Regions from separate parts of the Homo sapiens genome. Here regions 1, 3, 4, 5, 6 and 7 are each linked to region 2. The links are contacts of gene promoters, found by promoter capture Hi-C in blood cells and fetal thymus (Javierre and others, 2016). All regions are on one chromosome and are shown on one strand. The core of a region is centred on a gene start or on the middle of the fragment in contact, and the rest is flanking DNA. Distances in the headings are between cores, read along the strand shown.

Region 1 (4,186 bases), core at 711-3,210, 270 kb after region 2:
AATCATTTATTTGATGTCAGTACATGCCCCCTGCTCTAATCTATCATACAGTATATCCAACCTCTGTCTATCGTAGTATATTCTTTGCATATACTTGGTTGGAGCTGACCTTGCTGCTTAATAATTTATATTATTTTCTCCTGCATTGTACTATCAACCTCTTAAGAACAAAAAATATATAATAGGTGCTCAGTAAATGTTTGTTAGTTGAATGCATTTCATGTCTTCTCACCACTGATGCAGATAACTCCCTTCCTGATTCCTCAGTCTCTTCCTCTGCTGGATTACTTCCACCAACATACAGTAGTATCTTTTATCTTAAAAACGTAAACACCTGCACCTCTCCCCACCCAATAAAACAAAACCTCCTCAGTTGATTCCACATCCCCTTCCAGTTGCTACCTTCTGTCCCTTTTTCCCTCTTTGGCAGTATTTCTCCACTTCCTCTCCTTCCTTACCGCCCACTTTACAGTCTTCACTCTGTGTTCTCATCTTCCTCTTCAGTCTTTAGCATGTTCTGTTGGCTTTATCTCAGGAGTGTGTGCTGAATCCATACTCTGCCGTATCCACTTCACTTCCACTACCACTGCTGGACCCCGTGCCGTCATCTCACTAGGGTAGGACAGGACAACCCTTCTCGCTGGTCTCTCTGCTTTCCCTTTTGCCCCACCAGAAAGCAGTCTCCACATAGATCCTGAGGGGTCTTTTCCAAATAAAAACTTTCTGATGTCATTGGCCTACCTCAGGCCACGTTCTTACACCTGGAGTGAAATCCAGTCATGCTGCCTGGCTGCCAGCCTTCCGTGTTAGTGCTGGCCTCTCTCTCTGTCATTCTCTGCCTGCTCTTCTGCTCACTGTGCTCAAGTAGTTCATGGGAAGGTTGCAGAGTGTTGTGGATGGTTTCAAGATGCAGTGTTTGGTCTCCCAATTAAAAGAATTACTAATACAAAGAAAAAAAAAAGACAAGGTATTTAGTCAAATGTGAGTAAACTTGGAAAATGACTTAGGTCTCTCAGATGTGGTCACCTCATTCCCATTTGCCTGTGTAGCCAAGAGACCTGAGGCCACCCATCCATGTTGTTGTACACCATGTTTATGTTTTGTTGATTTCTCCCACATGTCTGTAATTCAGCTTGCCCAGCAGGCTACGTGGCATTTCCCTACCTTGCATATCTTACCTCAACTCTAAGCAGAAGCTGCTTAACAATTTTGGTTAATAAAACCATATTTTCAAAGCTGGATGAGGTGGTGCATGCCTGTAATCCTAGCTACTCAGGAGGCTGAAGTAGGAGAATCCCTTGAGCCCAGGAGTTTGAGACCAGCCTGGGCAACAAAGTGAGACCCCATCTCTAAAAAGAAAACAAAAACAAAAACCCGCATTTTTATTAAATCTTTTTTTAATCTTATTAAAGCTTTCTCTAAAGCTAATAAGAAGAATCTGTTAATGTATCTGTTTTATAAATAGTCAAAATACTCAAGCTTTATGAAAAAGTGGGGGTACACTTAAAAAATCTCACAAGAAGGAACTGTTTTGTCTTTTTAATTAGTAAATATGTTTGTGTTAGAAGCATTAACATCCTTGGTTCCAAGCTATTACTTGGCATTAACTCTAACTTTTCCTTAATGGGCAAAATTGTTAAGTGGGTAAAGTGTGTTAGAAATGTCCCTCTCAGCAGGACCAGCCCAAGATTTACCATGCTTTGTCATTGCCTCTACATCACTGGGGCTCAGCCTAGGCAGTGGCCTCTGTGCTTGACATTTTTCTTCCTCATTCTGCTCCCAGAGTCTCCATCCTGTGTCTCCTCATTCTTTCAAGCCTCAGTTCTTTCCTTTGGGTTCTAACATTTAGCATTGGCCTAGGTGTGCGTGGTAGAGGCTTGGGGCCTGTGGGTTGAACCCAGGTGAAGGCACAAGGGGAAGACAGAGTGAAGGAGAAGGAAAACCAAAAGTGGCAGAGAAACACAAGAGGATGTAGGGAAAGGGGAGAGATAGAGGGCCATTCAAAAGAAGAAAGAACAAAGGTGAGTCTCCAAGACAGGATCCCAGAGTGTGGGGCTGCATGAGTTTTGAATGCTTGCTTTGGGCACCTGCTGATGTTTGCTGCCTGCCCTTAAGAGCCTGCGTAATGTGGTGCTCAGGTGGTTCCATGTTAAAGGATCAGGCTACAGCAGACATACCAGAGAAAGTGATCTATATGAATGTTTTCTGAGGCTTTTACTGTGCTTTCTCACTGAAGCAACACCTTTTCATCTTAATAAGAACCTTTTGCAGGCACAGGATTGACTCTAGGGGTGGACATTGCAGGCACTGTACAACAGACCCTCGGCGGTGGCATCCTAAGGTATGTGGCACCTCAGCCACCTCTCACATCATACAGTTGTTAAGAGCCATCCCCTGGCCATAGGATTCTGCCTCTGAATATCTGTTAGGAGTGTGTATGGTGAAGCTTACCTTGTATGTATTTACAGCGTTCTTAATACTTTGCAGCTGTGCAAAGGACATTCTAAACATTTCTATATATGCAAAAGAACTACCACAGTTATGAGAAAGCTCTGCAGTTCCCACAGCCCTCCTCCTTCTGATTTCTGTTCTGCTGGTTCTGGATGTAATTAGGACTAGTTCTTGGCAGGATTCTCTGTTGCGTTCTGGCTCTCTAAATAAGACACACTGTTAATTTTCATTATTTGAAGTCAAATTAAGTTTGAAACCTTGGCTTGTCATTTTGCGCAGGTAGGAGGGAAAGGGCAAGAGTGAAAAGGATGATTATTTTCTTAAAAAGAAAAGTCATCCTCATTACGAATGAAGCTTTTAAAAGCATTATCAACTAAAAATAAATAACAAGAAACAATGTGAACAGAAGCAGCTTACACAGTTTTCCTTATTTAACAGCTTTACTGAGGTATAATTCACATGTCATACCATTCACCCACTGAAAGTATACAATCATTGGAATCTGGTATATTCACAGAATTGTACAACCTTAACTACAATTAATTTTAGAACATTTTTATCACTCTAAAAAGAACCCTAGAGGGATCACTCCCTATTTCCTGTTTCTCTCTCCCTTCCCCCCGTCCTAGGTAACCACTAATTCACTTATTTTCTGTCTCTGTAGGTAGATATTGCCTATTCTGGAATTTCATATAAATAAAATTACATAACATTTGGTCTTTTGTGTCTGGCATCTTTCACCCAACATCTTTGTTTTTTTTTTGAGATGGAGTCTCGCTCTGTTGCCCAGGCTGGAGTGCAATGGCACGATCTCTGCTCACTGCAACATCCACCTTCCGGGTTCAAGCAATTCTCCTGCCTCAGCCTTCCGAGTAGCTGGGATTACAGGCATATGCCACCACGCCTGGCTAATTTTTGTATTTTTAGTAGAGATGGCATTTCACCATGTTGGCCAGGATGGTCTTGAACTCCTGACCTCAAGTGATCTGCCCGCCTTGGCCTCCCAGAGTGCTGGGATTACATGTGTGAGCCACCACGCCCGGTTCACTCAACACATTTCTAAGGTTCATTCATATTGCAGCATGTGTCAGTACTGTATTCCTTTTTTATTGCCAAATATTTTACTGCATGGATCTACCACATTTTATTAATCCACTCATGATCTGATAGACATCTGAGTTATTTTCACTTTTTGGCTGTTATGAATAATGCTGCTATGCACAGATTCTTGTGTGGACATGTTTTTTATTTCTCTTGTATATATAACCGTATATATAACCAAAAGTGAAATTGAGTAGCTTTATTTTGAAGTATTATTTTCCAAATAAAGTTATCTCTGCTTTGTATCACCATTAATTTCTCCCACCTCTGAATAACTACAGCCTAGCTTAGCTAAATAAAGTTTGCTTCCCTTAATATGCCTAATTGTATACTATTGTTGAGTTATAAAAATCAGGTTTCAACCTGAGTTTTTAATGTGTGGCTATTATAAATGATGATGAATGCCCTTCAATAATCAGAAAATTGATGCCTTTGTTGACATTTTCAGAAGCTTGTGGTATATTAACTTACCTGTGTTTGTTATGGACTTCTGCATTTTAGCGATTTTAAAATGTAGCAGCCAGTTTTGCGCACAAAAGAATAAACATCAGCCCAAATTCTGACTTTTTATTGATTTAATATTTTAATAATTTCTGAAGAATTATAGCAGCTACCAGTTAAACCATTAGATTAA
Region 2 (4,256 bases), core at 1,153-3,652:
GCACACAGACACGGCTGATCAGAGAGGAAGCCCAAGACAGAAGCAGTGACACTTTCTTTTCTTTCCTAGTAGCTGCTCTCACTGAAAATGTCCTTTTTTTAATGAAATTAGTGGGACTAGATTCCTGCGGGAAAACACACAGAGAGAAACCCTATTCTACCTCTCTTCCTTCTCTTTGTTATATTAAGTGGCAACAGCTCCTCTAATCACTAATAAATTCAGGTTTATAAGTCACAATAGCAGTGTCAGGGTTAGGCTGTGAGTGTTACAGGCACTTAAAAGGTCCTTCAAGTTAAAACAAAAAATACTCTCTTTGTTTGCCATCTTTGTACTGTTTAACATGAGTATTTCAACAGTCTTTATTTTCCAAACATGCAAACAGGAGAGAGTGATCTGACCCACAGCATATTGACATACCATCTAGCTATAACCTTGAGATAAAAAGTAAAGGAAAAAGTCAAAACAGCTCAAACCAAATACTAATACAAACAAGTCTTTCTTCACTCTCGACCCCTTCCCCCCCCATATCAGTGGAACAAACTAGCATCAACACTCATTGACGGTGGTGGATTCACATGGCTCTATACTTGTGCAGCTTCAGGGGGACAGGAGAGCCCAAATACAAAGGGGAAAGTTTAATGTATTAATCAACTAATTCAACAAATACTTATTACTATATGTATCTGCTCTGATGCAGACAAGGTTGTAGACGCTGGGAATATCTCATACATTTAAGGGATGTATAAGACTTGCAAGGTCTCTGCCCTTGTGAAATTTATCTAGTGGTGTTAGAAAAAAAAAATCAGAGAATATAGCCCACAGTGTTGAGAGGAGATAAGAAATAGCAGCTGTACCAGAAAGCATGAGTTGGTTTCCTGGATTCTGTATATCCAGGAATGCAACTGCTTCAAAATCTGGGTCAAACTGTGGAATGGCTATTAAAGACAGAAAGGCAGAAAGAAAAAAAGCAGAGAATCAGAGAGAAGCTTCTCTTTCCACCACATATGGGAGGGTCCTTTGGGAGTTTTTACCAAATTGTTCAGGAAGAGTTAAACATGATGTTTTTAAGGTGATGAATTTAAAAAAAAACCACAATAAGTGCACCTTTGTCCCACGATGGAAGGACCCCAAAGGTGGAACATCCCAATTTAACAAGAGTAACTTTCTGAACATCTTCGTTATGCTAAACTCTGGGCTAGGCATTTATGGTTTTAGCTCATTTAATCCTCTCAACCAAATCCATTAAAGATAAACACTAACTTTTATTCCCATTTCGCATACGAATAAATAGACCTAGAGAAGTTAAGTAACTTGCCCTTACTCAAGGACACAAACCTGGTAGAGAGTGGAACCAGAATCGGATCACAGCTCCATCTGACTCAAAATCGATGTCCTAAACCACTTCATTTGCATTCATAAAATTATTTTTCATCCTTTTATTTCAGTAAAAAGGAATAATGTATTAATGTTAAATAGGAAAATTATTCAGATGGCTTCAGAAACTGACCTGTGTTTTTAAGATATTTTTTTGAACAGACATCCACATATATCCAATCAGTCAAAATCAAATAACACCATTTTCTCAAATGCATGAAAAAGTAAGAGATGACTTGTAACTGCCTAAATGTACCTAAGTTCAATATCTCAAATTAGAATTATGATTCAAGAATGAATGGGGATCAGCATTTTATTCAACTGATGAATTGCTCCTCAAAGTTTATTTTATTTTATAACTGCATACATTTCCATCATCACACTTTAATTGAAAATTAAATTAATAGTAAAATAAGGTGAAACTGGTTTAGTGAAAACAATGCAAAACTCCATAATAAAGTTCATGCCCATTTGGGAATGAATCCATATCAAAAATCTTTATCAAAAATAATTGTAGTGGAATTAAACTTTGAAAGGAGGTGAAGGTCTTGCTTTGGGTTGAAATCATTTAAATTAAATATAATGAAAAGTGACCAGGGTGCTTATTTTTACTTTGTTTTGTGGGAAATTGTGCTGGGAATGTGGATCTATTGTACACAAAGGATGTTGGCTTTATGCTGGAACCACTAGGCAGGTTGAGTTGAGAAACAATTAGCTCAGTCAGCAAGCCTTTGAATCTGATTAAGCCAGGAAGTGGTCACTCCCCAGGACAGGGCAGAATGAAGGGAATCAAGGCAGCAATCCAAAGCAAGGGATAATTTTTTTCTCTCTTTCTCTTAAATAAATTGTTATTAGAATTTATTGTGTCAAATTTATGCCAAGGACTATTTGAGTACATTTCATCTTTGGTAAAACAAATAGAATCTTGTTTCCAAGTAGATCAACAGTTCGTATGTGTCGTGGCTACTGTCTCTAAGAAACTTCTATTTACTGAGGCCTGTCATACGCTCATGTTTTGGTAACAAAACATCTTTGAGACCAAGGCCTCAAGCCACCAAGGAAAATGAAGGGCCTCTACCAGGCTGCTGGCCGGATTCTTGTTACTCTGGGGATCCTCAGTGTATGCTCTGGAGTTATTGCTTTCTTTCCTGTCTTTTCTTACAAGCCTTGGTTCACAGGATGGAGTGTTCGAATTGCTTGTCCTATCTGGAATGGAGCTTTGGTATGAAAATAGTTTATTAAATATATTGAGAAAATAAAAGAAGGTGGGAGGGAAAGGGAAAACAGAAGAACATATCCTTTTAAATTGTTCTAACAATACAAAGAAGTCAAAATTCCACAAAAAATCAGAATCCGCCTTGGAACATTGATTTCTATTAATTGCATTTTAAGTATAAAAATGATCTTAATATTGTTTTATCATGTATACATGTATATTATGTATTTTTAATGACATGCTGCTCAAGAAATTCTTAAAAAGTTATTTTATTTTAATCCACTTAACTTGATATGCTAAGAAATTAGAATCTTTTGAAATGTGAATTTTGAATTTAGAAAAAAACATAAACCTTGAAAAGTAATTTTAAAATACAGAACAAAGTAAAATAATTTTCAAACTAATGCTTTCATTGCAAACACTAAGATGTACATGGCCCCAAAATTTACAAACCCCAAATATTTGTTTTTCCACCTTTCTCTTGCAAGCAACTGTTTGAACTGAAAATAACTCAATAATTTTCAATTATTTGAAAATAATTCAAATAATTCAATAATTCAAGATGGACTTCACAATTCACTAGGAAAGTACATGTGCCAAGTACAGCGTACGACACTAAGTAGTACTCCGTGTGCGCTCATTGAATCATTGCACAGATAAACGATTGGCCTGGTCCCTTAGCTCTCCAACCAAAAAAAAATGGGCACATCTAGTCTTGGGAGTAACTGGCTTCCATGCTGGTATGATTTAAGAGAAGTTACAGAGACCCACCTGTCCAACAAATCCTTCTCTCATTGATTCCTGTGACGCCTGACACTACTGGAGACTGGAGAATTCAATATTGAAGCTTTTTGATCTTAAGGAATCTTCTATTAAAATGTAGCCACTTGGCCGGGCATGGTGGCTCACGCTTGTAATCCCAGCACTTTGGGAAGCCAAGGGGAGCGGATCACGAGGTCAGGAGTTCGAGACCAGCCTGACCAACATGGCGAAACCCCGTCACTACTAAAAATACAAAAATTAGCTAGGCGTGGTGGCATGCACCTGTAATCCCAGCTACTCAGGAGACTGAGGCAGGAGAATCACATGAACCTGGGAGGCAGAGTTTGCAGTGAGCCGAGATCATACCACTGCACTCCAGCCTGGGTGACAGAGCAAGACTCCATCTCAAAACAAACAAACAAAATGTAGCCACTGTTGTGTGAGATAGTATCTTAAATCTTTAAAAAGTTAAAACTTTAACTGAGATACCACCTAAAAACTAGACCTCAGGAAATATAAATTTTAATCTACTTATTAGATAAATATTTATGAATAGCCCCCTATGTCGTTGAGTTACAATGAAGGATCCAACAAGGTCTTCATCTTAAAGGAACTTGGTCTAGTGGGGTTTGATGAATGTGTGCAGATAGACGGAAGCCAGTGGGATTATGGGAGAGTCGATGGAATGAGGAAACCACAGGGTTATCTTTCTCTTTCTCAGTTTTTTTTTCTTTTTCAATACATTCTTTTGCATCTATCACCCCAATCTTGATCTTCCCTTCTTTTCTCCAACACCTACCTGAAACCACAATTCATTCAAAGAAATATTTGTTTAAGTTCTACTGGAATGCAGAGATGGCAGTTACACTTATTCAAGTGGCTTCCAAACTTTTTTTTGGTGACT
Region 3 (3,777 bases), core at 693-3,192, 350 kb after region 2:
GAAGGGTGAATGGAAGAAAGGAGTAAGTTTTTGGATAAATAAGAATTGTGGGTGAGCAGGCCAAATGTTAAAAATTCTCTTAGTGGTGGTCGGGCGTGGTGGCTCACGTCTGTAATCCCAGCACTTTGGGAGGCTGAGGCGGGCGGATCACAAGGTCAGGAGATTGAGACCATCCTGGCTAACACAGTGAAACCCCGTCTCTACTAAAAATACAAAAAATTAGCTGGGCGAGGTGGCGGGCGCCTGTAGTCCCAGCTACTTGGGAGGCTGAGGCAGGAGAACGGCGTGAACCCGGGGGGCGGAGCCTGCAGTGAGCCGAGATCACGCCACTGCACTCCAGCCTGGGCAACAGAGCAAGACTCCATCTCAAAAAAAAAAGAAAAATTATCTTAGTGGTTATACTGTTGTAGAGTAGTATTGATTGATGCATTTATTCAACCAGCAGCCCTTATGTGGTTCTGCTGTTTCGTACTCTAGTAGATACTTTGAGAGCTACAAAAATGTAAACGTGTGATTCTTGTCGTTGATGGATGACCTTACCTGTCAAGTGAAATGAGACATGTTTTTGTTTTTGGTTATTTGCCATTTAAATGGATTTTAAAATCCTTCGTACTCACTCCAAAGTTATTGTTTTCTGCGTCTGGATTCTACCTTACTGCTTCTATAAAGTTGCATCTTTTCATCAAAATTATATATGGTACTGCTAAATGGGTTGGTGGAAATACTCATTGAAAAGAATATAATTATGACATAGATCATATACATAGCTTCACATTAAGAAAAGGGTATTGAGTATTTGAAACACTTGACATTGTGTTTATAAATATCTACTCATCTAGTCCAGCACTGAAGAGTCATATAAGTACTTAATTTCAGAGGTGAATCACAAGTGGCATTAAAAATGTATTTTTCTTGTTACCTGGGGCCTATACATTTAATGAGTTTAAATTATTCCTTTGGCCTCAACTCTGGTGGGTAACCTAATTCTAATACCATGGTGAATGGTTACTGTGACTACCCTGTTGCTAAGAAACCTGTTATGTTATCAGGTTGCCTTGGCGAAGTAACGGCTTCTTAGGACTCCTTAGCACCGCTGGGAGGTTGTTAATCAGAGCTGTGGAGGACCTTACAGAATTAGTTTCCAAGGTTATAACTAATTTTTCTTTAGGAAGAGAAATAAATCTAAGTCTGTAAAAACTGAAAGAAAACAAAGTCTAAATTATTTTCAGTTAAATCATGACCTTTAGTTATTTTAAAAAAAGTTTGATCTTGAGATAAAAACCTATTTTTACTAGTATTTTTACTAGTTACAAGGATCTATGTCTTGAATGGTGGCACCCCAACCCCCACCCCTCTTAACTTAGCATTCCATTTTTGTTTGCTTAGAGTGATTCTTGGCAGGGTATTTGCAATGTATAGAAGAGTATTTGAACTGAGATCCCGAGGGAGAACACTGTGTGAAATTATTTTAGTCATTTGATATCAATTGCTCTTGCTATGAAATGATTGAACATTTTATTTTAAACAAATGGTACACTATGTAGCATTTTTTAAAATGCACCACACTTGATACTGGGTCAATAATTCTGTTCAAGGCAGGAAGCTGGCTTTCACAAGCTTTGCTCCATGGCAAAAGGTTTCAGATGCTTAAAGCTCCACAACACACGTTAAGAATCTGAGAAGTTGTGCTGCTGTTAATTTTGTGTAACTTAGCTCTCTTCCACATTGTTTTCTCTTTTTATCTCTATGCCTGGAGGTGCTTGTTTTCAGCAAATTACATTTTGAGAAACTCTGTTCTTGACTATTGTTTAGAGGTACAATGCAGAAGGGGTCATTCCCATTTGACACCATTCTCATTTGTAGCAGTACAGGTTAAGTCACAAGCCAGCCTGAGGAATAGGATGAGCTGTTCAATTACACAGGAGTGGGCACAGTTAAGAACCCAGGCTTTGGAATTCCAGTCAGAGTGCCTGGACCCAATTTTGGGTCTTCTGCCTCAAACTTTTTGACCTTAAATCAGTTACATAATGACACTAATCCTCAGTTTCCTCAACAGTAAATGAGAGATAAAACCCTTTAGATTTCAAAGAGTTGTGTGGATTAAATGAGATTATATGAAATGCTTAGCATAATTTCTGGCACTTAATGTGAGCCTTTGTAAATGTACAATGTTAATTATTATAGAGGACACTTTCTGGGGAGCTGTGAGTTGTTTCTTTAAATCTGAAAGGTTTAGGTACTTGGCATTTGATGAAGCCACCCACACTAAAGCTTTTAATTGCTGGGAAGATTTTTCAGATTTTTAAATTTAATTTATTTTTAAATTTAACCTTAAATGTAAAAACATTTTTTTAGACACAGTGTCTTGCTCTGTTGCCCAGGCTGGAATTCAATGGTGTAATCATAGTTCATTGCAGCCTCGAACTTCCAGGTTCAAGGGGTCCTTCCCACCTCAGCCTCCCAAGTACCTGAGACTACAGGTGCCTACCACCATGCCCAGCTAATTTTTTTTTTTGTAGGGATGGGGGTCTTGCTCTGTTGCCTAGGCTGGTCTCAAACTCTTGGCCTGAAGGATCCTCCTGCCCTGACCTACCAAAGTACTGGGATTAGAGTCTCCCAGCCTTTAATATTTTATAATTTATTTCCATATGTCTTTTTCCTTGAGTTTAGAGTTGGACATTCTAAGTTTTAGCCCTAACTCTTGGTCTTTCTGGGACATCAGTTTTCTCATCTGTAAAATGGAGGTGGGAATTGGCTGACATTTCAGGTCACATTCTGTGATCTGACCCCTGGGAGAGCTTGGTGAAAGGTTCCCTTCTGATTGTATCCTGAATAGAAGAGGGAGGGTCTAGAGGTTAAGGACAGCCCTCAAAGTCTTGTAATGTTAGGATGAGCCACACAGATGATGGCACCTCACGTTTCGCTTTTTCTTGTCCAAAGAAGACAGCCGGAGCTCTCAGAGTAAGTGAGTTAATTAATGGGCAGTCTGTATTTGGGTTAAATATATGCTTTCGGTTATTACTTTTCTCTTTTTTAAAGAACAATTCTTGGCTGGGCATGGTGGCTCACGCCTGTAATCCCACCACTTTGGGAGGCTGAGGCGGACGGATCATGAGGTCAGGAGTTTGAGACCAGCCTGACCAACATAGTGAAACCCTGTCTTTACTAAAAATACAAAAATTAGCCAGGTGTGGTGGCATGTGCCTGTGGTCCCAGCTACTCGGGAGGCTGAGGCAGGAGAATCACTTGAACCTGGGAGGTGGAGGTTGCAGTGAGCCGAGATGGCACCACTGGATTCTAGCCTGGGTGACAGAGTGAGACTCTGTCTCAAAATAAAATAAAATAAAATAAAGTAAAATAAAATAATAATTATTTAAAATGTTTGAAACAGCCTCAAAACTGCAGAATTGTTACAAATACGGTGCAAAATACTTGACAGCACTTGTTAGCTAACCCCAACTTAGTTTAGAGAAATAATTTGAATAGCACAGAGAACATGTTTTTTCTGAACCGTTAGAGAGTAAATTGGTCTCTTGATGCCCATCAACCCTGAATATTTGTTGTATTTCCCATAAACAAGGATGTTCATCTGCATAACTACAATACAACCATCAACATTAGGACACTTACTTTGATGTCTATATTTCTACTGTTGAATCCTCAGACCCCATTGAGGTTTCGGCGGTGAGCCCCACAAAATCCTTTATAGCACAAGGATTCAGTTCAGAATTATATGTGTCCTTTAGTTGGTGTGTCTTTTTAATTTCTTTGAGAGTG
Region 4 (4,156 bases), core at 947-3,446, 330 kb after region 2:
ATGAAGTAGAACTGGTATTGAAGAGATATCTTTCTATGGGAATCCAGCAAAAATACTGGGTTCCAAGAACTTGCTTGCCTGGGGAACTCCCAGATTCTTTAAAAACCTTACATGTGAAATAGCTTAACATAAATATATAGGTTTAGACATACTGATTGATGTTTCAGTGCCTATTTTTATATGCATTTATATCGCTCAGGTCATCTATTTTCCACTTGTTCTATTAAGTCATGGTTTTGCAAATGGTCACCATTTAAATATAAGGGACCTATTTTGCTTCTTTCATATTCTTCGACATTTCCTCAATGAAAGAATAAGGAAAGTTTAGGAGTGAGTTACTTAGGGTGTATTCTACTCTGAGGATTTCAGTTTTACTATAGCTGTATTTAATCTTATATTAATTGGGCACTTATATTAATTTAGTGCCTGTATAATGTTGGCACTGAAATGGTTCTTTAGTGTGTTGTGAGAAAATTTCAATGAAGTCATTTATAGAAAACTGTTTTTCTCAAGGGAATTTCCCTTTCCCCTTTTCAGAAGTCAGAGGAAAAAAAAACTGGAATTAGAGTATAGAGTTAGAGATAAAGCGAAACGATGGCAGAATATGCTGAGACATTTGCTCAGGGGTTAAAAGACAGGGAGTTTATAGAACTCCCTTTTCTGCTTGTCATAAGGTTATCTGTTCCTTCTTTTGGACATCTCTCTAGAGGTGTTCCCAAGCTTTGTATCACAGATTCTTTTATCGTGGGGGTCCTAAACTTTAACCATTTAAAAATAAAAACCAAGGGTTACCAAACACCTTAATAGAGACTTCTCTATGAAGTTACAAGAAGTAAACAACCATATGGAAGAATTTGATGTGTTCTTTGAAGTCACTGCTTGTAAGAGAAGACAACGTGTAATTTTTGAGTTACTGTATGACTCACGTTGGAAATGTTTAAAGCCTTCTGTAGGCATGGTGTGGTGGCTCACACCTGTAATACCAGCACTTTGGGAGGCCGAGGCGGGAGGATCACTTGCACTTAGGAGTTTGAGACCAGCCTGGGCAACATAATGAGACTTTGTCTCTACAAAAAAAAAAAAAAATTAAAAAAATTAAAAATAAAAAAAATTAGCCAGGCATAGTGGTGCATACCTGTAGTCCCAGCTACTCAGGAGGCTGAGGTGGGAGGATCTCTTGAGCCTGGGATGTCAAGGCTGTTTGAGTTGTGATTGTGGCACTGTGTTCCTGCTTGGGCAACAGAGCAAGACCCTGTCTGGGGGAGGGGTGGGGCGCGGGGTGGGAAGCCTCCCGATGTCCTAGGAATAGAAGGCTTTTGCTGTTGCAGGAGTACTGAAATGGAATAGTAGGAGCTGCCAGTGAAACTCATTCAGTGTTGATGTAGCATGTTTTAAGAATGTGTTATTTACGGGGAAAACTCTCGAGTTCGTCAGCGAACTGAGAATCCATTCATGGGTGCAGAAAAAGATGCCCATTGCGGGAAATGTGTCTGTACTCTGTGGCACCTCCTTAGGTGGGAGGAATGTGGTGGGGGCTGTGAAGACTGTGCCACTTTCACACCTCTGCATGCAGAATGACTCTCATTCTCTTTTACCAAAGAGCGAATTCATTATTGAACCTGTTAGGATCCAAGGCATTCAAGCATATTTGGGGAAGACTACTCTTGTTCTCTAGAGAGACAGGTCTAAATGATTAAGTTTCCAAATACTGAGCTTATTCCAGAAATAATTTGGTTTCTGCATGCTTTGTTTTCTACAGCATGGTGAGACTGCCACTTAGTTAGACTGAGTCTTGTGAATTGAAGCCTGTTTACAAGAAGTCTGACATACACACTATTATTTTTAGCCTGAACAACATGAAAACCATCTATTTAAAACTCCCAAATCTGAATGACAGTCTCATCTTGCTTAAAATTCCTTCTAGTACTTTTTAAGCCAACAGAAAGGAACATATAAACAATTTGTTAATTGCAACAGCTGGTCCCTGAGTATCTTTATGTTAATGTTTGGAATCTTTGAATTTGAAAGACTTTTAGAAAGAGCATCTGGATTAATGTAGTGCTATTCAGACTTCAGTCTTGAGAAGTGGAATCGACCTCATCAAGACAAACAAACAGGGGCCTTATACAGATTGGGAGGGCGACAGCAAAGGCATGGTGAAATTTCTTTAAAAATCTTAGTAGAGAATGAAGACAAATGGTCTCGGTTTGGTTGTGGGTGAATAGCCTCTTATTTAATTTAGTATGATGTTTATCTAGCTGCTGTGGTAAATGAGGTGAAATCTTTTGTGTATACAGTTAATTCCCAATTATTCATACATGCTTTAGCCAAATTGCTGATTCTCTGTGGACTTTGGAGACCTTCCCCCCGCCACCCCCCCCCCCCCAATACAATTTGCTGTCCATCCGGTCCCATGTCCTAGTTTCCTCTCTGGCCATGCTTTCTCACAGGGGTTCCCAGTTGCTCTCCTCATTTCCATCTTTGCTCCCTGACCAGGCCCCTGCTGCTTTTGCTTTCTCGCTGCTTTTGCTTTCTCTGCTGCATTCCCTGGATTTGTCTGACAGTCCAGGGTTCTTGTCTCCTTGCCGTTGTCTCTCTCAGTCATCTCAGAGTGGTAATAGAGAAGCTAGTTGATGGCCAGGGAAAAGCTACAGAGAGCTAATGTCTGCTGCTCCTTGCTTCTCTTCCTGTCACCTTTGGGCCTTTGTTGAATGAACAAGTGGAGAGTAAGTAGAGAAAGGGGTTTCCTGAAACATTTCCAGCCTGTTCTTTTAAGTGCTTTTTTTCCTCAGGATTTTATAGTCCTATACGTGGTAGGTAGGCGGATGGGCGGGTGGTGGGGGAGGTATTACAGCAAAATGCTTACATATTCTTTTCACCTCTTGTTTTCTTTTTTGTTCTCAACTGGGACCTACTATTCTCCTCCCCATTGCTGAAAGGCAAATTCTTAGAAAGGGGCCATTTAGAGTATGTGTAGCTGAAGAACCTCAAATAGTTCTTCATTTAGCAAATATTTAATTTCTTGAGTTCTTTTTATGTTTTGAATATTCTTAGAGATACGAAAATGAATTTGATGTAGATTCTGCCCTTAAAGGGGTTTAAGTAAAATCTAGAAGCAGAATTTACACAGACAACCACACAGAAAACCCTAAATCTAAAGCCGATATGTAAACACATGATTACCATAGTAAGTGAGAACCTTGTACCGCGTTGGAGAAGTGTGAAGGGTCTCCCCAGAAGACATTGTTTTTCCTGGGGAGGGGATCACAGTAGTACAGATGTGAAAAATCTGCCCTAATATTTTTTGTTTGCACTATGTGGATGGAAATGAAAACTTACCTGTAACAAACAGTTTTATCTATAGAATGTTTTATAAGCCTATTTTTGTTCCTTTTCTATTATATGTCTACACAGAATATAAATTTACCCCATCAGGTGAAAGCTCAGCATAGGTGTGCAAGCCCCACTTGGCTAAAATATTGGTTAGAGCAATAAAATCCTGTGTTCCATTCCCAAACCAGTTCCAAGCCAGGTAATGGGTTGAAAAGGCCTTTGATTAGTTGGATTTCCTATAAACCAACTCTGAAGTACGCATGCATTGATTGAATTAATAGAAGAGCCCTTCATTCCCTTGCCAGAGCCTGGTGTTGCTTAATCTTTTAGTAGTTCCACTAAAGCTTTTGGTTTCTAAGCCCAAATGAGATTACAACCAGCAAATTTTAAAGAAGTGGAGCTAAGAGAGACGAGTATAGTAATAACAAGTCTGAAAAACTGCAAGAGGACACAAGAATTCTGAGTGAGCCTGGTAGTTTCTAGTGAGATTTCCATTTAAAGTTTTGATAGTTAACCTTCCATGGACTATCTCAGATCATTCTTTGGATTCATAAAGTATTTTTGTTAGTTTCCTTGCCATAGCCAAATAAAAATAATCTCTGAATTGAGTTAGGAAATTTAGTTCCTGCTACAACTGCAGATTTCATGTACAGGAAGAGGAAGGGGTGGGCAATTACAGAGGATTAGGGAACATCCCTTTAGAGTTCTTCCTGGGATGACAATGGTCGAATGAGATAATGTGAGAGTGCTTTGCAGTTGGAAAGTGCTGTAGGAACCCTGAATTCATCTGAAACTGTAGCTTAGTGTTTAAATGATGTCTGTT
Region 5 (3,722 bases), core at 1,008-3,507, 460 kb after region 2:
CCAATTTTTGTACTATATGCAGCATACTTACATTGCCATGCAAAATGGCTGACAAAATATTATGTGTGAAAAGCATTGACCCTTAGCATAACATTGTTTAAGATTAAAGGCAAGAAAAATAGCCAACTCCATCTGGCCCATACAACTGTCTGTTTTCAACAACCTCAAATTTCTAACCTGCATCAGGTTCTTTTACTTTTATCCTCACTGCCATCCTCCCAGCCTGGCCACCAGGAGTCTCCATCACTTACGACTCTCCAGCCTAGGAAGTATGGATTGCTGCCTCCAAGAATCCCACTAAAAATGAACAAAGAATTTACTGAGACCAAATTTACCTTTCCCCAGACAACTGACTGCATCCTGCTAGTACTTTGCAGGCTGTTTCCCTGCCTTCCTCCCTCTGCTCTATTATCCAGATGGATTTTTGGCGGTGGCTGTTTTTGGGAACATATAGGACCTGATCTGCCTGGGTATACTTCTGCATTTGTAGGCAAATGCCCAGTCATTGCAAACTGACATACTTACTGGGTGGAGGCAGAGAACCTAAACAGCTAAACTGGGTTGGGTAAGGGTCAGCTGAAAAGCAGTCTCAGTGCTGTGGAGACAGTAGGAATGATGGGGACTCTAGCGAACTCTGCAGCACCTGCTCCATCTAAAGCGGGGAGCTGCCCACAGATTTAGCTCATTACTACAGGGCAGGAAAGAGGGCCGAGTGAGGCCAGGTGCAGTGGCTCACGCCTGTAATCCCAGCACTTTGGGAGGCCAAGGTGGGTGGATCACCTGAGGTCAGGTGTTCAAGACCAGCCTGGCCAACGTGGTGAAACCCCCATCTCTACAAAAATACAAAAATCAGTCAGGCATGATGGCAAGTGCCTGTAATCCCAGCCACTCAGGGGGCCGAGGCAGGAGACTCACTTGAACCTGGGAGGCAGAGGTTGCAGTAAGCTGAGATCATGCCATTGCACCCCAGCCTAGGCGACAGAGCGAGACTTCATCTGAAAAAAAAAAAAAAAAAGCCAAGTGTTGCTAAAACCTTGAGTTTTTAAGAGAAGCCAGAAGTTTGGTTTTTAAAATGAGAGCGCTCCAGATATTTTTCAGTGAAGGCTTAATTTTTACTTTTTTATTTCAGAAAATGTTAGATATAGTCAGAAGTAGATAGTAGTTTAGATAGTAGTAGTTTAATGAACTCTCATCACTCAACTTCTGTTACCTCATTGTCCTCACTTACCTCTCCCCTGCCCTGATGATTTTGAAGTAAGGTTCAGACATCATATTATTTCACCTATAAACTATATTACCATCATCACACACACCTGAAATGTCTTCACAATCCCGGGACTGTTCCCATTTCCTCAGTTCTAAGAATGAAGATTTTGTTTCTTTAGTTTGTTGTAATTGGAATTCAAATGTGTGAATATGTGGTTTGGTTGATATGTCTTAAATATATTTTAATCCATTCATTTTTCCCTTTATCTTTTTCTCTTTCTTGCAACTTGTTTGTTAGATTAATTTGTTTGTCCTGTAGAGTCTTCCACAAGTATGAGTTTGGCTGACTGCATCCGTGTTGTGTTGCTTAATATTGTTCTCCTGTCCTCTATATTTCCCATAAAGCAATGAAGAGGTTTAATCAGATACAGGTTCAGTTTTTCTGCCAAGACAGTTTTGTAGGTAGTGACATAGTCCTTTATTAGGAATGCATGGTGTCTGGTTGTCTCTTTTTGTGATGGTCATTGCCTGTATCTTTTAATTCATAGGTGGCTCTAATACTTCAAAACATTATGTTTTTGCACACTGCCACCACACATACACATGTGTCTTGGGTCAGATGCAACCCATGAGTCACCTGTTGGAGAATTCTGTGTATCAAAGTTCAGGCTTGAGCCCTGCCCATGTCTGGAACATGTTGTGATTCATTTAAAGTAACTTACTCCCAGTGAGCCCATCCTGACACAGGGAAATGATCTTACCAGATCTACCATTTAGTTTTATATTATCACGTGCCTACTTACAGTGCGTGCAAAAAGGACCTTTTCCTTCATCAGGGGTTGGGTGGAGAGCATCCCAATGATAAGCATTATTTGTTTGGATCAAATTTCATGCTGTCCTCCCATAAGGCAAATAGATCAAATATGTAATATGTATGTATTTTTATCTTTTGAGGTACAAAGTAGACATATCTATTAGTGCCTTTGACGTATGGCCTCTATGAATTTTTCATGATGGACTTTGTGGAGAAATGACTTTGCAAATCACACACACACTTGGGACCTATCTTCCATAATGTTGTTATCTTTACCTGTTGTTTGTGTTCATTGGGTAGGGCTAAGGGAAGTGGATTGTGGTGTTTAGAGGAACATGATTGCAGGATGAACAAGGGGAATAGGCAATACCGTATATACTGGTTAGACTTCCAGGGATAAATACCATTGATCCAAATTTCTAACTGTGTGGCCTTGGGAAATGTACTTCATCTCTGTGTTTCCTTCTGTCTGCAATGGGTAATAAGATTTCCCTACCTCAGAGAGGGTGGCTATAAGAATTAAGGGCTCAATATCTATTTGCCAACTCTGTGAATAGTTTAATCCTTGCATCTGTTTTAGGCAGCAAAGTGTTCTTTGTTGTTGTTGTTTTTTAAGAGTACATTTTCAATTTTGAAAAAATAAATTCCCAGTATAAAAAATGGAATAGTAGGAAGATGATAAAAATCAGCATAGCCCTATTTTATGCTATTTGAAGAGTGTGGCATTAATAGTATGTTCTATGCTTTTTCTTCATGGCTTCTCTGGAGAAATCAAGCACATATGTTGCAGTGTTGAGCCAAACATTTTAGTGTACAGACCGAACATCTTTAATCTTGGCTTCATGTATAAGAGTTAAATATTCACGTGGATTAAACTGTACCTGAACATTGTTTTTGTGGAATTAGAGAAAGTCACACTTGTTAGCTTCTCTGTGAAACATCCCTAGTTTTACATAAATGTGTACAGTATTAAATGTAGTTCAAAGATGGTATCTACCCTGTTTGTACTTTTATGCTTTCTCTCCAGTCTGTGACCTCTTATTACTGTTTCTTTTGCCTTTTTATCCAGCTCTTAACTCTTAGCCTTTTTCCAGATAAAGTCAACCAGAGAGTAGCTCATGGGGTTTTAGAACATATATTTGGAGATCGTTCTGGGGTTAAGGTTTATTTTCTTACTTAGAATAATCTCTTCTAGTCAGTAGATCCTGCCTATCTTGAAATGGAGCTGGGTGGCACACACTGAGACAAATACCTGTTGGGATGACTGTCCCCTGTTAATGCTAACCATAGGTCAGGACAAGACCAACAGATAAGAGCAAGAGCATGATACTCACTCCGTAAGAAATTCTGTTCATCTACAGAAAGCCTTAGGGTGAAACAAAGATAAGAATCCTGGTCTTCTATGATGAGTCACTGCCACTGACTGTGTCTGTTTTGTTTTCAGGGTGTATGCCATGTACAATTCCGTAAAGGGATCCTGCTCCGAGCCTGTTAGCTTCACCACCCACAGCTGTGCACCCGAGTGTCCTTTCCCCCCTAAGCTGGCACATAGGAGCAAAAGTTCACTAACCCTGCAGTGGAAGGTGGGTAGCTCAAAGCATCAAGAATCGTCTCAATTTAAAAATTAGCCAGGTGTGGTGGCAACGTGTTCCTAGTCCCAGCTACCTGGGAGGCTGAGGAGGGGGGATCACTTGAACCCAGG
Region 6 (4,072 bases), core at 402-2,901, 300 kb after region 2:
CCCAGCTACTCTGGAGGCTGAGGGAGGAGAATCGCTTGAACCTGGGAGGTGAAGGTTGCAGTGAGCCGAGATCGTGCCACTGCACTCCAGTCTGGTGACAGAGTGAGCCTCCATCTCAAAATAAATAAATAAATAAATAAATAAATAAATAAATAAATAAATAGTAAATGAGGCTCATTCGTGCTTGTCAGTGTTTGCATTGATGTAAAGAAATACTTGAGACTGTGTAGCTTATAAGGAAAAGAGGTTTAATTGGGTCATGGTTCTGCAGGATATATAGGAAGCTTGGTGCTGGGATCTGCTTCTCGTGAGGGCCTCAAAGAACTTACAATTATGACAGAAGACGAAGGGGAGCCAGCGTGTCACATGGCGAGAGGAGGAGTAAGAGAGAGAAGGGAGAGGTCCCAGACTCTTAAACAACCAGATCTCCTGTGCACTGAATGAGAACTCACTCATCACCATGGGGATGGTGCTAGGCCATTCCTGAGGGACCCATCCTCACAATCCAGTCACCTCCCAGCAGGCCCCACCTCCAACGTTGGGAGTCACATCTCAGTGTGAGATTTGGAGGGGACAGAGATCCAAATCATATCATTTACTGAGTTAAATGAAGGTGGCATAATGGTTTTTCTCTACCAGCGGTGTGATTGAAGAGGGCAGGCAGGCGTCGAGCCTGAAGGAGTGCATTCGTGGTGGGATGTGGAAGGAGAAGCAGATATTACAGACATTTAGGAGATAGTCATGACTTGTGACCAGTGAGAACACACTGGATGAATGTTTCCCTAAGGTAGATGAACTACAGTGTCTTAGAAAAATATTTGTCTTGTAACATAATTGAGAGCACTAAACATTTTGTATTCTCTGTCTCTTAATTGGACACACATTAAGAGTAACAAATATGGGTTTAAAAGGCAAACTTTTTTTTTTTTTAAGTGGGTATTTTTTTCCTTTTCCTCAACTTGGGTATTTCCTCTCTGAAGAGGGTTTTCAGTGTCTTGGAAGGTAATTTGCACACTATTTGTGAGGCAAGACTGCTGAGTTAATGGGGAATATGCTTTACTACTTCTTTTTTGGATCCAATCTAAATACGGAGAAAACTGGCCTCAGAATTGCCCACAGAATGGGGGTTTCCTTTATGATTCCTGCTTTTGAGTTCTTTGAATTAGCTTCACATTTCTTGTGTGGTTGGATAGACCCTCCTCCCCCTACCACTTTTTTTTTTTTCTATTTGAAGAGAAAAGATTATTTCCCCCCTAAGTATTCAAGTCTTTTTGTGCCTGAATTAAGGTCGAAGCATTCCATAATTTAAATATAATACCTTTTTGGATGCTTTATATATTGCATTGTGGAGCCAGTTTTAAACACCTGTTTTGTTATCTTTCTAGCTATAGGAGTGTCCACATCTTCACTTTATTTAAAAAGCTCCCGGGTATGTATTAGCAGATTATTATTTCTGTTCCAAATTGATAAGAAGAGGAGGGAGGTGTAGCATCAAGGGAGAAGTCTTTGGGAGTAAAAAAAAGAGTGGAAACTTAAATCAAAATATAAGTCCTTTTCTTGCTCTGTCTTCTAGTGAAAATGTTATTCTGTGTTAGAGAAATGACCAGATGAATTGTGTTTCCTGTTTCGTTTTGCAGTTCTCATTAAAGTGGGTATACGCATACACTTATCTCATGTAAATGTCAAACTGTTTGTTCTTGAAGTGCTGAGTCTTCAACAGTTCTCCTTGGTTGGATTTTGAACATCATTTCAGAATGTCTTATGCTAGATCCAGCAATGTCAGTTTTTGCCTGCTGCACTGTGGTACCTTGTGAATAAAGCAAGTATAAATGGTCCAGATTTATAATGGTTTAAGATTTTTCAACTTTACGATTGTTTCATTGGGACGTAACTCGGTCACAGGTTAAAGAGCATCTGTACTTAGGCAATGCTAGAACTGAGCTTGTGTTCTGTTGAGGAAGAGTAATCTTTGCAGATAGTATAAATTGTCTTTGAGTGTAAACTTGAAATAGGTTTCTTTCTTTTTTTTTTTTTTTTTTTGAGATGGAGTTTCACTCTTGTTGCCCAGGCTGGAGTGCAATGGTGTGATCTCGGCTCACTGCAACCTCCGCCACCCGGGTTTAAGCGATTCTCCTGCCTCAGCCTCCTGAGTAGCTGGGATTACAGGCATGCGCCACCACGCCCCGTTAGTTTTGTACTTTTAGCAGAGAGGAGGTTTCTCCATGTTGGTCAGGCTGATCTTGAGCTCCCATCCTCAGGTGATTTGCCCGCCTCGGCCTCCCAGAGTGCTGGGATTACAGGCGTGAGCCACCGTGCCTGGCGGAAATAGTTTTTTAAAAACATTAATAAAATATATAAAAAAAAGCATGGCACTATCATCCCATGAGTTAGAAATCAAGATCTAGGATTAAATTGGTTAATTTATTCTTAGTTAATAGTCACGACAGTTCTTATTCTGTGAGTCAAGCGCTCACCTGTTGAGTGACATAGTTCTTGAATCATATGCCCAAGGAAAAGGACATGTCTAACATCTCAGAATTTTAAAACTGTGTGTATTAACAGTGGCTTATATCCTTTTGCACATCAGAATTACCTGGGAACTTAAAAAAAAAGTTTAAAAGTTGATATGTAGGCTAGTTGTAGGGAAGTGTCACATTGTCTGAGCCCAGGGGAATTGTCAGATTGTAGGGGAATTGTCAGATTGTAAGGGTTGGGGACTGGGCATGAGTGGTTTTGAAAAGCTCCCGGGCCATTTGAATATGTAGTGAGGTTGAGAAGCTCTGGTTAACGTAACCCTCAGGACAGCTCAAGAAATTCTTGCACTGTGCTTTCCCACGTACATTTCAGTGTACAGGCTGTGTACCTGTGGCTGTTTATCAGGTTCATCTTCTTTAGCAAGTTTGGCAGTTTTGTAAAGTGTCTAAAGATCTTTTATCTTGTATTCTTATACATATTAAGTAAAATCTATGTGGTAGTTGGCTTTACTGAACCTATTAAAATTGCTTTTTAGCTTTGGTTATAAGCTTCTAAGTAATAAACAAGAACCATCAGACAGAAATATGAGTTACTGCTTTCGGCAGAGTACAGATTTACTTTATACTTACTTAGATGTAAACACAATAGTTCACGTATGTTTAACGAAATTCAAAGTTCACCTATGTTTAATGAAATTCAAAGTTGATTGGAACAGGTATGATTATGCAGAGTGGACAGACTTTAAAAAGTGAGATGAGAAGGCCAGGCGTGGTGCCTCACGCCTGTAATCAGCACCGTGGGAGGCCAAGGCAGGGGAATCATTTGAGGTCAGGAGTTTGAGACCAGCCAGGCCAACATAGCAAAACCCTGTCTCTACTGAAAATACAAAAATTAGCCAGGTGTGGTGGTGCATGCCTGTAATCCCAGCTACTCGGGAGGCTTGTGGCAGGAGAATTGCCTAAACCCAGGAGATGGAGGTTGCAGTGAGCTGAGATTGCAACATTGTACTCGAGCCTGGCGACAGAGTGAGACCCTGTCTCCAAACAAAAAAAAAAAAAAAGTGAGGTGAGAAAATAACCATCTTACAACTTGCCACTTTTCAGAAGCTGATAAGCTGCTGTGAGCCCTGTTTTCGCATGCCTTTATGAAATGATTGGACTGGGACTTTTGCTTCCCTCTTTGTTCCCTTCCTAATCTAGCTCGAATGGTGTAGGTCCCTAGGAATCATTTTGTTGCTTGACTTGGGTGGGTGGTCCCTATAGTATATGAATTCAGTATATGACATCTATGTCAGACCCTAAAGATTATCAACAGGTAGTCTCGGTTCTCAAAATGTAGCATAAACCAGAATCACCTGGAGGGCCTGTTAAAACACAGTTGCTGGTTCTACCCCCAGGGTTTCTGATTCAGGTCTGGGGTGGGTGGGGCCAGAAAATTTGTATTTCTGAGATGTTCAGGGTGTTACTGATGTTCTTGGTTCAGGAGTTCTGAGACTCATGGAGGTGGAGATCGTCGGGGTTGGTGACATTTGTAAGAGAAGGGTATTTACAGAAGTTGTACCCTTAAATTAAAAAGAAGGCTCTCAGAATTAAGTCTG
Region 7 (4,149 bases), core at 379-2,878, 380 kb after region 2:
GTTCAAGGTCACGCAACCAGTGTGAATAGTGAGCTGGGGAATAAAACCAGGCAGATCACACTCTTAACATCTGCTCCATTGAGCTGTGTACATCAGCCCTTGAATTTCACAGATACTGCTCAGGATGGGGCAGACATCATTGTTTATGATTTATTTTTAATGAGTCAATTCAAATACAAATATTAAGTAAATACACAACTCTCTCGTTGGCTGTGTCAAAAATGCTGAGGCTGACAAGAAAAATGGATTTGGAAACCAAAGCCTTCAGCGATTGGTGGATGTATTCGTTTAAATTATACTTAAGAATTAAATGGGGTCATGCAATGATCGATTTTTATGCCATTCTCTTCTTTTGCTTTAAATTATTGCCAATGTGTTAGCATGTGAGAGACTGCTGTGTTTACTTTTTACAGTTACAGAGATGACCAGATAGTTGAGTGATTTGGTATATTATCCATGAATTTGGATTGAACGGTTGGCATTTGGAATGTTAGATAAATAGTATACAAATTTTCTTCCCTGCTCCTGTTTTTTTTCCTATTTCACAGACTTGTTCATATGCTCACCAGTGTCCCTGTCCCTTTCCCCCTGCTGAGTCCTCTCCTGTGAAGTGGTCATAACGCTGGTTGTACTGTGAAGTGAAGGATGCATTGTGTGCACGTTTAAATGCAGCACTGGATGGCAGGATCTGCCTTTTACCAAATAAAGTGTTGTATTTCTCTTGGTTTTTGTTCCAGCTGAGCAATTTTCATTGCCGACAGCACAACATACATTAGGATAAAGCAAATAAACAATGCAAGGCACTTGGAGCCAGGAAGTCGCATCTCAGACTAGAAACACATAGTTTTCTATTGACATTTGGGAGGTGGGCTGCTAAATAGGCGAGCCAGCCACCAAATAGAAAACCAGTGGCCATGAGGTTCTTGCACTTCTAGGGAAGCCATTTATTTAATCGTTAGATCTTTGAAAGGTGTCTGAAGTTGATTTTGATGTAACAACAGCCAGTTTCTTTGTAATTAAATATTAACTCAAAACTATGTCTTGGGTAACTGTTAACCTTTGCCATTTGTTGTTTGCCTTAGACATGTAATTAACATTCATTGAATTTAATTTGTTGTTGTTCACGTCTTTTATTAACTCATACACAATTACTTGTCTTCTGTTTTTAAAAACTTTTTTGGGAAGACAGGGTCTTGCTCTGTGCGCAGGCTGGAGTATGGTGGCTTGATCTTGACTCACTGCAGCCTCGACCTCCTGGGCTCAAGCCATCCTCCCACCTGAGCCTTCCAAGTAGCTAGGACCACAGGCGCGCACCACCATGCCTAGCTAATTTTTTATTTTTTGTAGAGATGGGATCTCGCTATGTTGCCCAGGCTGGTCTCAAACTCCTGGGCTCAAGTGAGCCACAGTGCTGAGCCTTGTCTTCTGGTTTGTTGAAGCAGTAAGTCAGACAATATTTGCCACAATAATGTCTGTCAATTGTTTGTGGCTGGCCATAAAAACTCCAGCATCACATTCATCTGAAGGACACTGCTAATGAAGGCCACTCATTTTGCTGTTGTCATCCACCTTATTGTATCTCAGGACATCCAGCTTAATCTTTTTCTATTATGTTTATTCTTCTTGGGAGTGGTATGACTACTTCTATGAAGTCCCAACACAAGATGAAGAGCGGACTCCTTTTGAATGTGTAGTTAGAGTATGTTCATCCTTCAGTTGCTTGCCAGCAAAGATCAGTCTCTGTTGATCAGGAGAAATTCCTTCTTTATTCTGGATCTTGGCCTTTGGATTTTCTGTTGTGTCCAAGGGTTCAACCTTGAGAGTGGTGCTCTTCCTGTAAGGACTTTTATGAAAATCTGCCTGTTGCTTGTGGTTCCATCCCAGATGGTGGATCAGAAAACTGAATTTCCTATTTTGAAACAAATTTCTTGTTAATTTAATACTTTACTTTGAAATAATCCATGTAAATTTGGCATACATATTTTTAATAGTTCCTTATTTTAAAATATGATCTAGACCTGGCACGGTGGCTCACAGCTGTAATCCCAGCACTTTGGGAGGCCAAGGCAGGCGGGTCTTGAGGTCAGGAGTTCAAGACCAGCCTGGCCAACACAGTGAAACCCGTCTCTACTAAAAATACAAAAATTAGCTGGGCGTGGTGGCGGGCACCTGTAATTCCAGCTACTCGGGGGGCTGAGGCAGGATAATCGCTTGAACCTGGGAGGCAGAGGTTGCAGTGAGCCGAGATCGCGCCATTATACTCCAGCCTTGGTGACAAGTGCGAAACTCTGTCTCAAAAAAAAAAAAAAAAAATGTATTCTTTCCCCCTGCCTTATTCAGTTGGTTTGGAATAATTTAAGGATTTCTTCTATTTCAAATTATGGCATATTACAGTAATTTATTAAAAATAATCTAACTGAAAATCATAAATGCAAAGTCTATAGGAGCTTTCTAAACCAGAATAAAAAATAATTTTATAATTGATTTGTTTAAATATTGATTAATTATGCATTCTTTTAAAGGCCAAATAAAAAGAAAGAAACTTTTTGCCCCACTCTGTTACACTACTACTAACTGAGCAATCTTGGTTTATGGAACTTGAGGTTTTGGGAATCATTAAATATTTATAAAGATACTTATAGTTTTGGGTTTTTTGTTTGTTTTCTTTGAGTTGTATAGCTGGAGAATTCCTTTTCATTCATGGTTTCAGGTTTAGCTTTAAGGCAATATATACCAACTTTTGAAGAGCAAATTGTCAAAGTCATTAATTATCTTCAGTTTGGATAGTACATTGAAAACATTAATTATTTTGAATAATGTATGTTTCTTCAGCTATTAACATCTGACTCGTCTGTTTTAGGACCTGCTGAAGTTCCCATGATGTCACCCAATGGATCCATTCCTCCCATTCATGTGCCTCCAGGTTATATCTCACAGGTAATCCATTTGATGGACTTCTCTACTCACTATGGACACTGTCGTTGCTCCAACAGAATATATGTTGAGGCTTCAAAGCCATATTCCAGGAGTTAATTTGGGTACCGTAGTGCTAGGTTTGCCATCATTTTGTGGCACCACATGGCGTTTCTTGTGTCTTGCCACTTGACGTACCAGAGAACCAGAGAAAAGGAGACACAGAAGGCCTACTAGACTGTCCTCTGCCAAGTGGGGTTTTTATATTTGATTGTTTGGTTGTGATTTCTTTATGGAGTCTCCTGCTTCAGACATTTCCTTCCACCTGTAATACAACTTTCTGGAAGAAAATTCATAGATGTAGTTAGTTAACATATTAAAGGAGACATAGCTCACATAAACAGGGCCTACCTTCTGTTACAGAAGGAAAAAAATGGAGTTCAATTGCTCCACAATGTGGCAAAAGCTAGGCTTGGTGAGTTATTGAGTATGATGTGAGAACTTGGCTGTTTGCACTTAAATTTCTCTGAGCTTTGGTTTTCTAAGTAAAATGATGGTAATAGCAATCTCAGAGATCTGTGGGAAGGGTAGAAAAGCTTTAAAGGATGAAGTTATGTTCCTGTACGTGAATAAAGCATAAAATGTTCTGCATGGCTGGAACATTGTGGACATCTGTATATACTTTAGTTTTTGTCCTAGCCTCAGCACAATATGCAAATCTTCTGTTTCTGCATAGCTACCTTTCCAAATACCTAACAAACTGTTTTTCTGTCTTTCTGCCTTTTTTGTTCTTCCTACTTACCATAAAAGGAAAAATATTTACCATTTTACTATCCAGAGATGATAATCACTCTGCTAACATGTTTTTGATTATATCCTTCCAGATGGATTTTTCTTTTCTCTACTCTTTCTCTGTCTCTCAGCCTCTGCTTTTAAAGTGGTTTAAAATATGTAATTTTCAGTTTTTAATGATTCTGCTAGGGCGAAAAATTGGCAGCTACATAGGAAAGTTGCTGAAGCGGAGGCAGGAATCAAAGATTTATCCTTCTCTGATATAAAAACTTACCCATTTTTTCAAGTGTAAGGCATATTGCAGCCACTATAATTTCATTTTTTTCCATCCTTTTTTTTATGTGAGCCAATTGGACTTTATTTATTTCTTACTGAGTTACTTACTTACTTACTTACTTACATAGCCAGATTGCTGGCCAGTTTTCCTGCTGTTGCAAATAAATG

What was found. Contacts are between HindIII fragments. The CHiCAGO score rates a contact against its expected background, and 5 or more counts as called.
Region 1: a contact is called between a fragment that was not itself captured here and the fragment with the promoter of TMEM212 in region 2, in 1 of 17 cell types (M0 macrophages). The highest score is 5.8, in M0 macrophages.
Region 3: a contact is called between a fragment that was not itself captured here and the fragment with the promoter of TMEM212 in region 2, in 1 of 17 cell types (M1 macrophages). The highest score is 6.3, in M1 macrophages.
Region 4: a contact is called between a fragment that was not itself captured here and the fragment with the promoter of TMEM212 in region 2, in 1 of 17 cell types (neutrophils). The highest score is 5.7, in neutrophils.
Region 5: a contact is called between a fragment that was not itself captured here and the fragment with the promoter of TMEM212 in region 2, in 1 of 17 cell types (neutrophils). The highest score is 5.3, in neutrophils.
Region 6: a fragment that was not itself captured here is called in contact with the fragment with the promoter of TMEM212 in region 2 in 1 of 17 cell types (M0 macrophages); the score reaches 5.6 in M0 macrophages.
Region 7: a contact is called between a fragment that was not itself captured here and the fragment with the promoter of TMEM212 in region 2, in 1 of 17 cell types (neutrophils). The highest score is 5.5, in neutrophils.

Annotation. Positions count from the first base shown.
Region 1 is chr3:172,113,370-172,117,555 of GRCh38, forward strand. The region is part of intron 2 of FNDC3B (fibronectin type III domain containing 3B); the gene reads left to right. Among named protein-coding and RNA genes, the nearest start is that of FNDC3B, 76 kb to the left of the region's middle. The HindIII fragment of the contact is 967 bases long and covers 1,478-2,444 here.
Region 2 is chr3:171,840,947-171,845,202 of GRCh38, forward strand. TMEM212 (transmembrane protein 212) reads left to right here and starts at 2,403. Exons shown (of 5, transcript NM_001164436.2): 1 at 2,403-2,596. The coding sequence starts at 2,438. The HindIII fragment of the contact is 2,451 bases long and covers 985-3,435 here.
Region 3 is chr3:172,193,852-172,197,628 of GRCh38, forward strand. The region is part of intron 3 of FNDC3B (fibronectin type III domain containing 3B); the gene reads left to right. Among named protein-coding and RNA genes, the nearest start is that of FNDC3B, 160 kb to the left of the region's middle. RefSeq lists a silencer at 244-434. The HindIII fragment of the contact is 654 bases long and covers 1,616-2,269 here.
Region 4 is chr3:172,172,561-172,176,716 of GRCh38, forward strand. All of the region lies in intron 3 of FNDC3B (fibronectin type III domain containing 3B), which reads left to right. It overlaps LOC124906304 (a long non-coding RNA gene), which reads left to right. Exons shown (of 2, transcript XR_007096169.1): 2 at 1-4,156. Among named protein-coding and RNA genes, the nearest start is that of FNDC3B, 140 kb to the left of the region's middle. The HindIII fragment of the contact is 2,957 bases long and covers 719-3,675 here.
Region 5 is chr3:172,303,899-172,307,620 of GRCh38, forward strand. It overlaps FNDC3B (fibronectin type III domain containing 3B), which reads left to right. Exons shown (of 26, transcript NM_022763.4): 10 at 3,465-3,603. Among named protein-coding and RNA genes, the nearest start is that of GHSR, 140 kb to the right of the region's middle. RefSeq lists an enhancer at 1,681-1,975. The HindIII fragment of the contact is 9,457 bases long and covers 1-3,722 here.
Region 6 is chr3:172,143,791-172,147,862 of GRCh38, forward strand. The region is part of intron 3 of FNDC3B (fibronectin type III domain containing 3B); the gene reads left to right. Among named protein-coding and RNA genes, the nearest start is that of FNDC3B, 110 kb to the left of the region's middle. The HindIII fragment of the contact is 2,739 bases long and covers 283-3,021 here.
Region 7 is chr3:172,224,011-172,228,159 of GRCh38, forward strand. It overlaps FNDC3B (fibronectin type III domain containing 3B), which reads left to right. Exons shown (of 26, transcript NM_022763.4): 4 at 2,861-2,937. It also overlaps the pseudogene RPS27AP8. Among named protein-coding and RNA genes, the nearest start is that of FNDC3B, 190 kb to the left of the region's middle. RefSeq lists a silencer at 1-103. The HindIII fragment of the contact is 3,757 bases long and covers 1-3,507 here.